2 separate regions of the Homo sapiens genome follow, and region 1 is linked to region 2. Evidence: promoter capture Hi-C in human tissues and cell types (Jung and others, 2019). All regions are on one chromosome and are shown on one strand. The core of a region is centred on a gene start or on the middle of the fragment in contact, and the rest is flanking DNA. Distances in the headings are between cores, read along the strand shown. Region 1 has its middle 9.1 kb from the start of NPY4R. Region 2 holds the start of SYT15 (synaptotagmin 15).

Evidence for each region. The method cuts DNA at HindIII sites, captures the fragments that hold promoters and counts their contacts. A contact is called where the count stands out against the background at its distance.
Region 1: a contact is called between a fragment that was not itself captured here and the fragment with the promoter of SYT15 in region 2, in 5 of the 25 tissues and cell types used here (H1 embryonic stem cells, IMR-90 fibroblasts, aorta and 2 more).

Annotation. Positions count from the first base shown.
Region 1 is chr10:46,453,977-46,459,795 of GRCh38, reverse strand. No RefSeq gene overlaps it. Among named protein-coding and RNA genes, the nearest start is that of NPY4R, 9.1 kb to the left of the region's middle. RefSeq lists a silencer at 1-254. The HindIII fragment of the contact is 3,996 bases long and covers 1-3,862 here.
Region 2 is chr10:46,576,454-46,582,543 of GRCh38, reverse strand. It overlaps SYT15 (synaptotagmin 15), which reads right to left and starts at 3,416. Exons shown (of 8, transcript NM_031912.5): 1 at 3,369-3,416; 2 at 2,176-2,380; 3 at 1,508-1,650; 4 at 353-648. The coding sequence starts at 3,375. It overlaps SYT15-AS1 (SYT15 antisense RNA 1), which reads left to right. Exons shown (of 2, transcript NR_155739.1): 2 at 1-376. RefSeq lists enhancers at 1,794-2,673, 2,674-3,551. The HindIII fragment of the contact is 17,987 bases long and covers 1-6,090 here.

The sequences.
Region 1 (5,819 bases), core at 615-3,114, 120 kb after region 2:
CTGTGGTGCCATCTGCTGCTGGCTGCTCCAGGTGACCACCTGCCAGCGAAGCCCAGGCTCCGGGACCCATCTATTTTGTGAAAAGCCCACATGCACAAAGCAACCCCCAAATGCCAAAGGAGCCAAGAGACCAAAGAAGGAAGCAGACAAATCCAGTTTGTTGGTATTGAGTGATTTATTGAGGGAACTTTTAAGCAGGCGGGTGGTCTCGGGTGGCCACAAGACAGGCAGATCTCTGCACTGTTACTCTCGGACCCAAGGCTTATATACCAAGGGAAAAGGATATACATGCTCCAGCAAGACAGTGAAAGGTAGTGTGCCAGAGCAGGCAAGAACGCCATGTGCATCATAGCCCAGAATTTGCATGATAACATCAAGCTTGCTTTGATCTAAAAGCAGGAGTACATATTCTTACACTCGGGACAGTAAATAAAGTAGGAGTCAGGAGGCATTCATGGGACTGGGGCTAATCAGAAGTCAACATGGGAAAATTAGCATCCAAGATGGAGTCACTTTTGTCTTCCCATCACCCCAGAAAGATGTCATTGTTCAAGCTTCCCAAGGAATTGGGGGCCTCAGGCCCCCCTGGATCCCACGCAAGTGCCTGGAGTTGCTTCTCATTATTAGTCTCGATGGTGCCAAGATGCTGGGGACAAAGATGATTTCAGGTGCAGACATGCTTGAGGACGGAGGGCCAGGCTAGGCCTCTGGGGAAAGTGTTTGGTGCTAAGAATTGGGGTAGTGGGTAGAAGCCTCGTTGAGTGTGTTCTGTGCCCCAGCATCACCTGGAGCTTGTAGATATTCAGAGTCCTTGTTGCCAGCCCAGCTCGATTGAATCCAAATCCATGTTTTATCAGGATCCCAGGTTAATTGTGTGCACATTAAAGTTTGAGAAGCTCTGCTCTAAGAAACAGGTTGCCCTGGAGCCTAGAGACACTGGGTAAGAACCTGTAGACACCCATCCTAGTTCTGGGAACGTCTCTAAAATTGTTATTGCTGAAAAGGTGCATTCAGTTTTGGTTGTCTGTCTCATCTCTGGCTGCATGTGGTCATATTTTTTGTGAGGCTTTTTCATTCTTTTGATAAATATTTGCCATGTGCATAGTTTGCATAGATATGTTCTTAGTGAACATGGCTTTTTGTATTCTGCTCTATTTCACTTAAAACTGTATCATCAACAGTTTTTCATCTTGCTGGATATCTTTTTTTTTTTTTTTTTTTGAGAAGGAGTTTCACTCATGCTGCCCAGGCTGGAGTGCAATGGCACGATCTTGGCTCACTGCAGCTTCTGCCTCCTGGATTCAAGCAATTCTCCTGCCTCAGCCTCCTGTGTAACTGGGATTACAGGTGCCTGCCACCACACCCAGCTATTTTTTTTTTTTTTTTGTATTTTTAGTAGAGATGGGGTTTCACTATGTTGGCCAGGCTGGTCTCGAACTCCTGACCTCAGGTGATCCGCTCTGCTCTGACTTCCAAAGTGCTGGGATTACAGGCATGAGCCACCGTGCCCAGCCTAGATATCATTTTTGATGGCCGCTTACAAGTGTACGAACTGTCCCAGTGAAAGCCAGTACCCCTCAGTATCTCTAGCTCCTGGGGGTGGTGGGGGGGGTGGGAGGGCATCTCTAGCCAGCAAGTGGACCCTCTGCCACCCATTGTGGGAGGTACCCACCTTACAGAGGAGGATCATGGCTGGAATTGGAGACTCATACCACAAAGACTGACTGGGAACCCTTGGAAGATGCAAAACTTTATCACGTCCTGGCTGTGAGTGCTAAAACCCTGCCTAATGCTAGCCTTTCTTTTTTAAAGTATTGATGTGGCCTTTTTTTTTCCATTATAAAAGTAATCATATTCATTCTGAAAGATATACAATATATACAAAAATAAAATTGAAAAAAGGAAATTATCAGGAGTTCCACCACTCAGACATAATCACTGTTTACATTTTGGGGAGTCATTTTAAAAGTTTTCATATGCATAGTCATATACATATGTCTGTTTTTTAAAAAAATGGTTGAGAGCATAGTGTGTCCACATGGGAACTTATATATCATATTTAAGGATTGTTTTATATCTTTTTTGTTTAACCTGATATAAATTTTTATTCACTTGTTTATTCATTAAATATGTCAGACACTATGTTAGCTGTGGGGATACAGTGGTTGTAATCAGACATTGTCCCTGTTCTATGGAACTTAGAGTCCATTGATAGATATATCCTATGTCCTTAATATCATCTGTTGTGGCATTCTGAGCTGTCTCTAGACCTGTTGCATAGAGTTTTATGATGAACGTCTATGCAAAGAACCTTTTCTATATTTGGAATTATTTCCTTAGGAGAGATTTCCAGAAGTGGAATTAACAAAGGGCATGGACAGTTTTCAAGGCTCTTGACGTGTGCTGCAAAGTTGATTTCCAAAAAAGGTCTGGAACAATTTCAGGGCACTCCCTGAAGAGTGCCCATTTCACCGTACCCTGGCCACTGTTGGTGATTTACCATTAACCAAAAGACTTTGACCTGTATCGCCCAGACTGGAGGGTGTCCCAGCTCCTGCCTCCAGGTCCAGCAAACACTGTGGGCACTGACCATTCAAGGCTAGCCTGACCCTGTCCCTCTGTGAAACCTTTGGGGGTTCCACAAAGCCTTTAGGGTTGCAGGACCACATAACTTATCCAAACAGGGATACTTGAGCATGAAAGGGGCCACCATGAATAATCACCCTGGGACAACAGGCAAAACTACCCTGGGAAATGGGAACATGAGATCATCCTACTATAGATAAATCTGATCCCTTTAACATAGCTTGAATTCAACCCTCTCCACCATCTGGCCCCAACTTACTTTTTCAGTCTCTTTGCATCCTGACATATCACACGATCCAGTCACAGTCGGCCTGCAATTACCAACCATGCCTTGGGTGTCACTGTCTCTGTACATCTGCTCCCGCCATTCCCTCCTCCTGCCTCCAGCCACCCCAACCCCCGCCAGTCTGCAATGCGCCCCCTCGCCCATCTGTGTAGGTCCAAATCCCACCCTTGCTTCAAAACACAAATTAAATGGTACCATTCAATACTGCTTTCATTCAACAAACATGTACTGACTGCTTACGATGTGTCAGGCACATAGAGTACAAGACCGAAAACATCCCACCTCCTGTGGAACTTTAATTTGTGTGTGCAACTGTGACAACTGGTCCTAAAGATGAACACAAAATGATGTGCCAGAGAGTCTGCCCTGTTATGGTTTTGAATAGACACACCCACCACCCCACAAGGTTATGAGCTCTTTGAGGGTAAAATCCAAGAGGCTCATCCTCCACCCTTGCAAAACCTCTGACACACCCTTGGATAGAGCAGGCACTTAAGCATTTGCCAAGTGAAGAATTAATATGAAAGAAGCTTACCTATTCACTCCGCAAGAGTTTTCTAATAACCAGTTCTGGGTTCTCCATGAATCTGAGATCAAAGGGGAGCCTAAATTTCCACATACCTTAGAGAAACACCCCCAGGTCCTACCACTGTGACTCTCTGTCCACCCTGATACTGGAAGAAACTGAAGTCACCGGACTCACTGATTGCTGCTTCTTGTGAGGTTAAGTGACTCATCCAAGGTCACACAGCTAGATAGTGACTGAGCCACTGGAGGGGTCAGGAGGTGATACAGGAAAGACTCAGAATGCATGAGTGGATAAGTCACCAAAGGAGTCACTGGAGTGGAGGGGCCTGGAGGGGAAGGTGACCCTGAGTGCTGGAATGGCCAGAGAAGAACAAACAAGCTAACAGCCCCAAAGACCTCCATTGTCCCCAGATCCCATTCACTGTCATCTCCTGAAGAACATCACTCTCACACCATCAGTGTTCTCTGCTCCTTTTTGCACAAAACTCCTCCAGAGACTTGTCTAGCCTCTTTCTCTCTCTCTCTTTTTTTTTTTTGTTCTTTTAGAGACAGGGTCTTGCTCTGTCACCCAGGCTGGAATGCAGTGGCATGAACATAGCTCACTGCAACTCGAACTCCTGGGCTCAAGTGATCATCTCACCTCAGCCTCTTGAATAGCTAGCACCACAGGTGCATACCACCATGTCCAGCTAATTAAAAAATTAAATCTTTTTTTTTCTTTTTTTGATAGAGACTGGGTCTCCCTATGTTGTCCAGGCTGATTTTCCTTTTTTTTTTCCTTTTTTGTAGAGATGAGGTCTCTCTCTGTTGCCCAGGCTGGTCTTGAACTCCTGGCCTCAAGTGATCCTTCTGTCTCGGCCTCCCAAAGTGCTGGGATTGGCATGGGATACTGTGCCTGGCCCCCTGTCTAATCCTGAAGCTTCCACTTCCTCTCCTCTTATGTGCTCACCAGTCCATTCATATAGCTCTTGCCATGTTGCCAAATCCTGTGGCCAGTTCTCAGTCTTGTCTGATATGGTCGTCAGCTGTATTGGGCAGTTGGTCACTCCCTTCTCCTTGAGACTCCTGCATGTGGCTTTTTCAGGGCATAATGGTCATGGTTCTCCCTGCCTCATTGGGCTCTTCTTCCCCATCTCTTTTCTTGGACTCTTGTTGCCCTGATTTTGGGACACTGGAGCATCCCCAAGGAGCCCTGGAGGTCCTCTCATTCCCCTGGTGAGCTCACCCAGTTTTCTGGTGCTAAATGCCACAAATACTCTAATGTTCCCCAGTGTATCTCCAGTCTGAACTTCTCCCTGACCTCCAGATTTGGGTGTCCAGGCATGCTTTGTGTTTCCTAGACACCAGTCAGCATCTCAAGCTTGGCACATTTAAAAGCAAACTCCAGATTTGTCCCTGCTACCTCCTTCCTCAGTGTCCTCCTTTTCAGAAAAGGGCAAGTCCTGCTTTTCATTTGCTTGGGCCACAGTCTTTGGGATCACCTCCTATTCACAACCCTCATCCAATCTATCGGTGAGTTCTGTAAGCTGTGCCTTCAAAATGTTCTCAGAATGACCACTTCTCACTGCCTCCAGGCTCTGCCTTCAGGTTCAAGCCACTGTCCTCCCTACTGAGATCATGGCAGAGGCCTCCTTTCTGGCCTCATTCAGCCAGAGTGATCCACTGAAACTAGTCAGGTGCCTCTACAACTTTGTTCAACCCTCCAGTGGCTTTCCATCATATTCAGGGCAAATTTCACAGTCACAGTCTCCACCTGTGTCTGCAGATCATCCACCCCTCTCTGGCCTCACTTCCCACTACCCTTCCCCTCACCCACTCCTCTTCAGCAGTGCTTGCTTCTCTGCTATCTTTTGAACAGGCTAAGACCTTTCCCGCCTCAGGCCTTTCTACTTCCTACTCTTGCTGCTTGGAATGCCACCCCTTGATATCAACTTTCTCCCTTGCTCCCTTCACCTTAAGTGAACCTTTATTAGAAGATTAATTTCCTGGCTGGGCATGGTGGTTTGTGCCTGTAATCCCAGCACTTCGGGAGGCCAAAGCAGGCAGATCACTTGAGCCCAGGAATTTGAGACCAGTCTAGACAACATAGTGAAACCCCATCTCTCTCTACAAAAATTACAAAAATCAGCTGGGCATGGTGGCACAAGCCTGTATTCTGAGCTACTTGGGAGGCTGAGGTGGGAGGATTGACTAAGCACAGAAGGTCAAGGCTGCAGTGAGCCATGATCACACCGTTGCACACCAGCCTGGGCAACAGAGTGAAAGCCTGTCTCAAAAAACAGAAGACTAATTTTTTAACCATCCTGTAAAAATATAACCATCCTCCCTCTCTCTTCCCTTTTCTGCCCAGTTTCTGCCACAGGACTTAGCACATTGGCTGGTTCTTTGTTGAGGGTCTCCACTCCCTCATTAGAACATG
Region 2 (6,090 bases), core at 2,167-4,666:
AAACCCCATAGTGCTTCAGGCCTTTGGGATAATTCCCCTGAGCCCCATAGGCCAGGGCCTGGCATTCAGTAGTTGCTCTAAAATTGTGTTTTCACCCACTCTCTTCCAGGTAGTCAGGACAGGGAAGCCCAGGCTTCTGGTCACCACTCACCAAATCTCTCCCCTGCCCCTCTATCAGGGATCAGCTCCTATAGGCCTTAACCTAGCAGACTAGGTAAAGCAGAGCTGGTGGCATCAAGGGTCCCGGGGGCTGCAGAGCCCTGGCTGGTACAGGAGGCTGGGCTCTCCTGTAGGTCTGCACCTTCCCAGCAACGCGGAGGGCACCAGACCCTGCCTGCTCCAGAGGCTGTACCTGAAAGATGAAGTGCTCGTCAAACTGCGGGTTGGAGGTTTTGCGTTTGGTCTTGGATTGGAGGAAGCGCCGCTCATCGGGCAGCAGGTAGAGCTTCACCAGGGGGCTGCAGGTCTCCGAGGGGGCTTGCAGGTGCTGTGCCTTGATCAAGCCCACCAGCAGCCGCTCAGCCTCCTGCTCATATTCCACCGAGAACCACAGCCGCCCCAGGCAGCCGTCGGGGAAGTCGGTCTCACTTTTGTCCTCCGGGAACTTGTACAGCTCTGGGTTGATGGCCCCCACCATACATGCATCTCCTATGACAGAGGGTGGGAGGGCTGGCAGGCCAGAGGAAGGCAGGGGCATGGGAGACAGTGGCAAGCTCTGGGCACCCATCCCCATCCTGGCCCATCCGTCTCTGCTGAGCCTCAGCTAGCCTGACCACATCTGCCCCACTCTCCTCACCAGGCTAAACACATCCCCTCTCTCTGGTGCAGCTCCTCCAAGAAGCCTTCTCACCATGAAGGCATTGCATGGCCAGGCTGGGGATCCAGCAGAGTCCTGCCCCCTGGGATTGGCCCCCATCCTTGGAGGTCAGGACCTGTTTCAAGGACACAGTGCCCATCACCTGGCCTAGCCCCCTTCCATGGCGTCTAGGGAATGACTCAGCGATAAAACATTGCCTTTCTTCTTCCTCTTCAAATTAGAAGGGCCAAGGTGATTATTGGGTGGTTCCTGTGATGGTCTCTTGGTAGATCTTCAGGGCAAAGAGGTGGCAGAAAGCTGTGTTTGCAGCCCCTACCATTCTGTCCTCTTGGTCAACCAACCCATCATCCTAGAGTGGGACCCAGCACAAGTTCTGTACATGGCGTGCCTGGGTTCCAATTCCAATCTGTTGCTTACAGCCTCAGTTAAGACTATGTAAAATGGGGTGATAATTCCTCCCCCTCAGAGTCATGGTGAGGTCTCACTCCAAATCAGCACCCAAGGCCATATCTTACCCTCATGGGGTGCAGCAAGCACTTCATAAATGAAAGCACCCAGAAAGAGTGGTCCCTGGGTGGTCCCTGGCATCCCTGGCTGGTTCAGGTTGTGTTCCGGAGCCAAGCTGGTGAAAGCAGATGGGGCCACCCGAGCAGACCCTGACCTCTGGGCAGCCCTGGCAAGGACACTCACCAAGGCCGCCGCTGGAGGTGTGAGGCAGCAGCTCTGATGCCGGGCAGGGGTCCCATGGGGCATCGGCCCACTCTCCACTGTGCAGGGGCACCCAATCTCGGCCTTGAAGGGTTGGGGGCACCACGAATGGCACAGCTGGTGGCCTGTCCAGAGTCAGGGAGACAACATGTAGGTGGCAAGTCAATGGTGTGGTCTCAGAGCGCTCAGCCAGGACGGTTGAGCACCAGGGGCTGGAGGAAGAAAAGCCATCGGGAGCCAGGAGGAGGCCAGGGCACCATTTTCTGGGCCCATACCAGGCAACACACACACACACACACGCACACACACACACACACACACACACACACACACACACAGCAGTGGGATTTGAAGAAGGAACACAGCACCTGACAGTGTCAGCCAGTCTGGGTTTGGATTCCTGTTCTGCCACTTACTAATTGTGTTCTCTGGACCTGTTGCTTATGTGCACTGAGCCTCAGATTCCTCACCTGGAACATGGGTTTCATAACACCTGCCTAATAGCTGATGTGAGGTTTCTGGGGTTTCTTTGTGATAGCTCCCAGCACCGAAGCAGCATAGAAGAGGCACCCCCATAAACAGAACTTTCCTTTTCGACCCCACCCTGAGGGAAATTCCAGGGGCGCACTTGGCCCCACATCCTGCCTCACCTGCTCAGTTGGGTCCTAGCATGCGGCTGGCAGGGCCTGTCCCGCTGCCCACTGGAGGCAGCTGTGGTGGCCATGGCTGGTGTCCCAGGCAGCTCCTCATAGGTGAGGGTGGCACAGAACCTTCTCCACAGACAGCAGCTTGCCCCGATCAACAGCAGCAGCAGCAGCCCCCCGATGGTGCCCCCAATCACCAGGGCCAGCTGCTCTGGGGGCAGAGACCACCAGTACTATGATGCCTGCCTGGGAAAGCCACTCTCCCTCACAGCCCTGGCCTGCTGGGGCAGAACTAGGGCAGCAACCCTGCCTCTGGGTTTGATCTCAGGAGTGATAGGAGCAGGCCTGCTGGGGATGGGTTCCGGGAGGGATGCTGCTGGCTAGGTTCCGCCAGCTCTCAGAGGAGAAGCCGTTTACCCCAGGGTCTGAGAGCCCTGGGCAGAACCTTCTAGTTTTCCTTGGAAAACAGCTGGCCCTGCCCTTGGGATTCTGGCTTAAAGAAGCCATTTCCTTGCGCTTCTGAGTAGAAATCAAACCTGCCCTCACCAGAACCTCCATATCCCCTGGGCTCCTGTTGAGGCCAGGAGGGGAGCTGGGGTGTGGACGCAGTCAGTTAAGGAAAGCCCTGAAAGGTACCTTCCCCCTGGTCTGCAATCAAACCTCTACCCTCTGGGGCCCTGGAACCTGCTGCAAGGCTGGACTCTTCTCTAACACCCGCTCCCTCCCCTAGCCCTCTATCAAGGTGAGCACGCGCTTAGGGGAGTTGGTGCGACGCGGTGGACGAGGTGGGGAGGAAAAGGGGGCAAGACCCCGTTGCTGCTGGCCCTCACACGTCCGCATTTGCGGGACCTAGGAGGCTTCGCCCCGGGGGTGCTCAGACGCTGGGTTCCAACCGCTGGCCACCTGGGGCGGGCCAAAAAGGTGCCTCCCTTAGGGTGACGTGCGGCCGCGGGGCATTCAGGTCTCAGGGATCTGCACTGGGTGGGGTGGTGAGAAGGCCGGACCCCCCACACCTCCTAAGCCGCAACTGACCGCGAAGAGCGGGCCTCAGCGTCTACTCCATCCCAGTGCCCCTCCAAGAGCGCGCCGAGGCCGGGCAGGGCAGGCGCTGCACCCCAGCGGGGGCGGCGGGGCGGAGGCAAGTGCTGGAAGGGTCGCAGAGGGGCCGGGGCTGGGCTGGGGAGGCGAGGCTCGCTTACCCGCCATGGGGCTGCTCCCGCAGGCTGGTCTCGCCGGTCTGGGCGGCTGGGGCTGGGCTGCCAGGCCGTCTCTTAAAGCGCCGCGGGGCGCCGTCGGGCGAGCACAGGGGCGGTCCGTGGTGCTGCTGGTGCCCAGCTGCGGCGCGGGGAGCCGCGCAGTGCACGGCAGGGGCAGGGACCCAGCGCCCCGAGGCCGCAGTCCCGCCCCAGCCCGTCCCTGGCCCAGGCCCAGGCCCGGCGGTGGAGGGGCGCAGAGCCGACCGTGAGCTCCCGGAAACCGCAGGGCTCCAGCCAGGGCGGGTCCCGGGCGCCAGGGGCGCCAGGGGCTCCCTGCGGCTTGGGGCAGGGTGGGGTGAGAGTACCACCCCCATCCCGGAGAGCAGGGCTACAGCCTTCACCGCCGCGTCTGACACAGGGCTCCGCACCCGACCCCTCACACCTGGTGGCCAGGACTGAGCCCCCGCCCTCCCAGATCCTCCTCAAGCCGAGGCCCCTCCAGCCGCAGCTCCGACCCCGGCTCGGGGGAGCCTTCCCGGATCCCGGGGTGGAGTCTCCGCGCGGGTCCCCGGCCCCAGCGCTGCCTGCCTGATGGCCTTGGGCAGGGATGCGGCGCTCGCGCACCCGTTCGCTCTCAGCGGACAAACCGGTCGAGAGCGCAATTCTGGAGCGGGTTCCAGAAGCTCCTGGGTTCCAATTCAGGCTCCTCACTCGCCAGCCCTGCGATTTGGGACAACTTAACGTTCGTAAGCTGGGTTCAGTCTTCTCAATTGGGTTAATGTCCGTGAGGGGCTCTCGTAAGGGCGGCTGGCCTGCCGGTAACTTAAGAAGCATGTAAAGAGCACTTAGAGCGGAGGAGCGGCGCGGCCCAGCCCCTGTTACGGTGGTTATCGGATGGAGGCCAGCGTCGCCTGGGTCCCCTCTGTACACCCAGCGCCTATTATTATGGTGATTATTAGAACGCAGGGCCCGTGCCCACTAGTCCAGGCTGGCGAACGCGCCTTGCGGGAAAGGCGGGAGTAAGGTCGCTGCGTGTCCTCTCTGGTCACACCTCGGCGCGCCCTGGTCGCGCCCCTATGGTTCCCCCGCCGAGGCCTCGAGGCGTCTGAGTGGGGAGCGAAAGGAATGTGTGTATCTGTGGTGCAGGGGAGTGTGTGTGTGTGGGGGGGGGGAGGGGGTGGTTGTGGGGGAGTGCGTGTTTTGGGGGGATGGACCTTCTCGTTTTACAGCCTTGAAGGTTATGTCCAGAGTCATAGCCTGGGTCCCACACCCCCGCGTCACCTGTGCCTGTCCTAGGGGGCAGTCAGTGTGCGTGAGGCTCCACCCTGCCTGGGCTTTGGCTCACCTAAGGCGAGGAGGGTGGTGAACTGGGGTGCCCCACTGGGCCGGGTCTGGGAGCCCTCAGCGCCAGGGTGCAGAGGCCGCAGCCACTCCCCTTCTAGGGTCTGGGCGGTGGGGGCATGAGAAGGCGGAGACCCAGGCCACTTCACCCAGTAACTGTCCTCAGCTGTGCGCTTAACTGGCGAGATCTCCGCTCTACTTGGAGACAGTCTGGGGTGTCTGGAGAATCCTCCCCCACTTCTGCTTACCCCAGGTCGCTGTGGGAGCAGGTGTCTCAGGAAATGGGGCCTGGGTCCCACCCAAGGCCTCGGGTCTGAGTTAGATGTCTGTATGTTTGTTGTTGCCCCTGCAACAAAGTACCACAGATTGAGTAGTTTAAGCCACATGCATGTTATCTCACAGTTCGGGGGGTCGGGAATCTAAACTGGGTTGGCAGGGCCTGTGCCTTCTGGAGGCAAGGGAGCTGTTTCCCAGCGTTTCCAGCTCCTAGAGGCTGCTAGCTAGTGGCCCTTTCCTTTGTCTTCAAAGCCGGCAGCACAGCCTTTTCTAACCTCTCCCACTCCAGGTCATTTCACATCAACTCTTTCTGCCTCCCTCTTGTAAGTGTGATACCCTACCTTGTTTTAACCTGAATTGACTGTCCCTTAGCTGAGAGAGCCAGACACACTCCATTTTGGCTCCTTCACTTGCAGCCCCTTACCCACCCCCCTTCCTCAAGGACTTAACTTGTGCAAGCTGACTCCCAGCACATCAAAGAATGCAATTAATGGATAAGATACTGTGGCAAGCTATATCCGCAGTTCCCAGGAATTTGCCCAGTTGATAGTACCCTAAGCCCCCACATTTGTGTCCGGTTGATGGTACCCAAAGCCCCCGCATCTATCGCCTTGTGATGGATTTAAAACCCCTGCACCTGGAACTGTTTGTTTTCCTGTAACCATTTGTCTTTTAACTTTTTGCCTGTTTTGCTTCTGTAAGAGTGCTTCAGCTAGGCTCCTCCTCCCCTTTCTAAACCAAAGTATAAAAGAAAATCTAGCCCTTTCTTCAGGGCCGAGAGAATTTTGAGCACTAGCCGTCTCTCGGTTGCCGGCTAATAAAGGACTTCTGAATTCATCTCAGAGTGTGGCGTTTCTCTATAAGAGGCTCATCAGATAATCCAGGATAACCACCACCCCCATCTCAAGATCATTAACTTAATCACACCTGCAAAGCCCCTTTTGCTATGTAGTCACGGGGTTGGGGATGAGGACTTGATATCTCTAGGACCATTGTGTGGACCATGTTGTCCATGCAGTACCCTGGGAGGGGTGGCTTACATTTCCCCTTCCTCTGTCTAGAGTTCAGTGTGCCTCAACACTGGACTCAGGCAGCTAGCAAGGCTCAG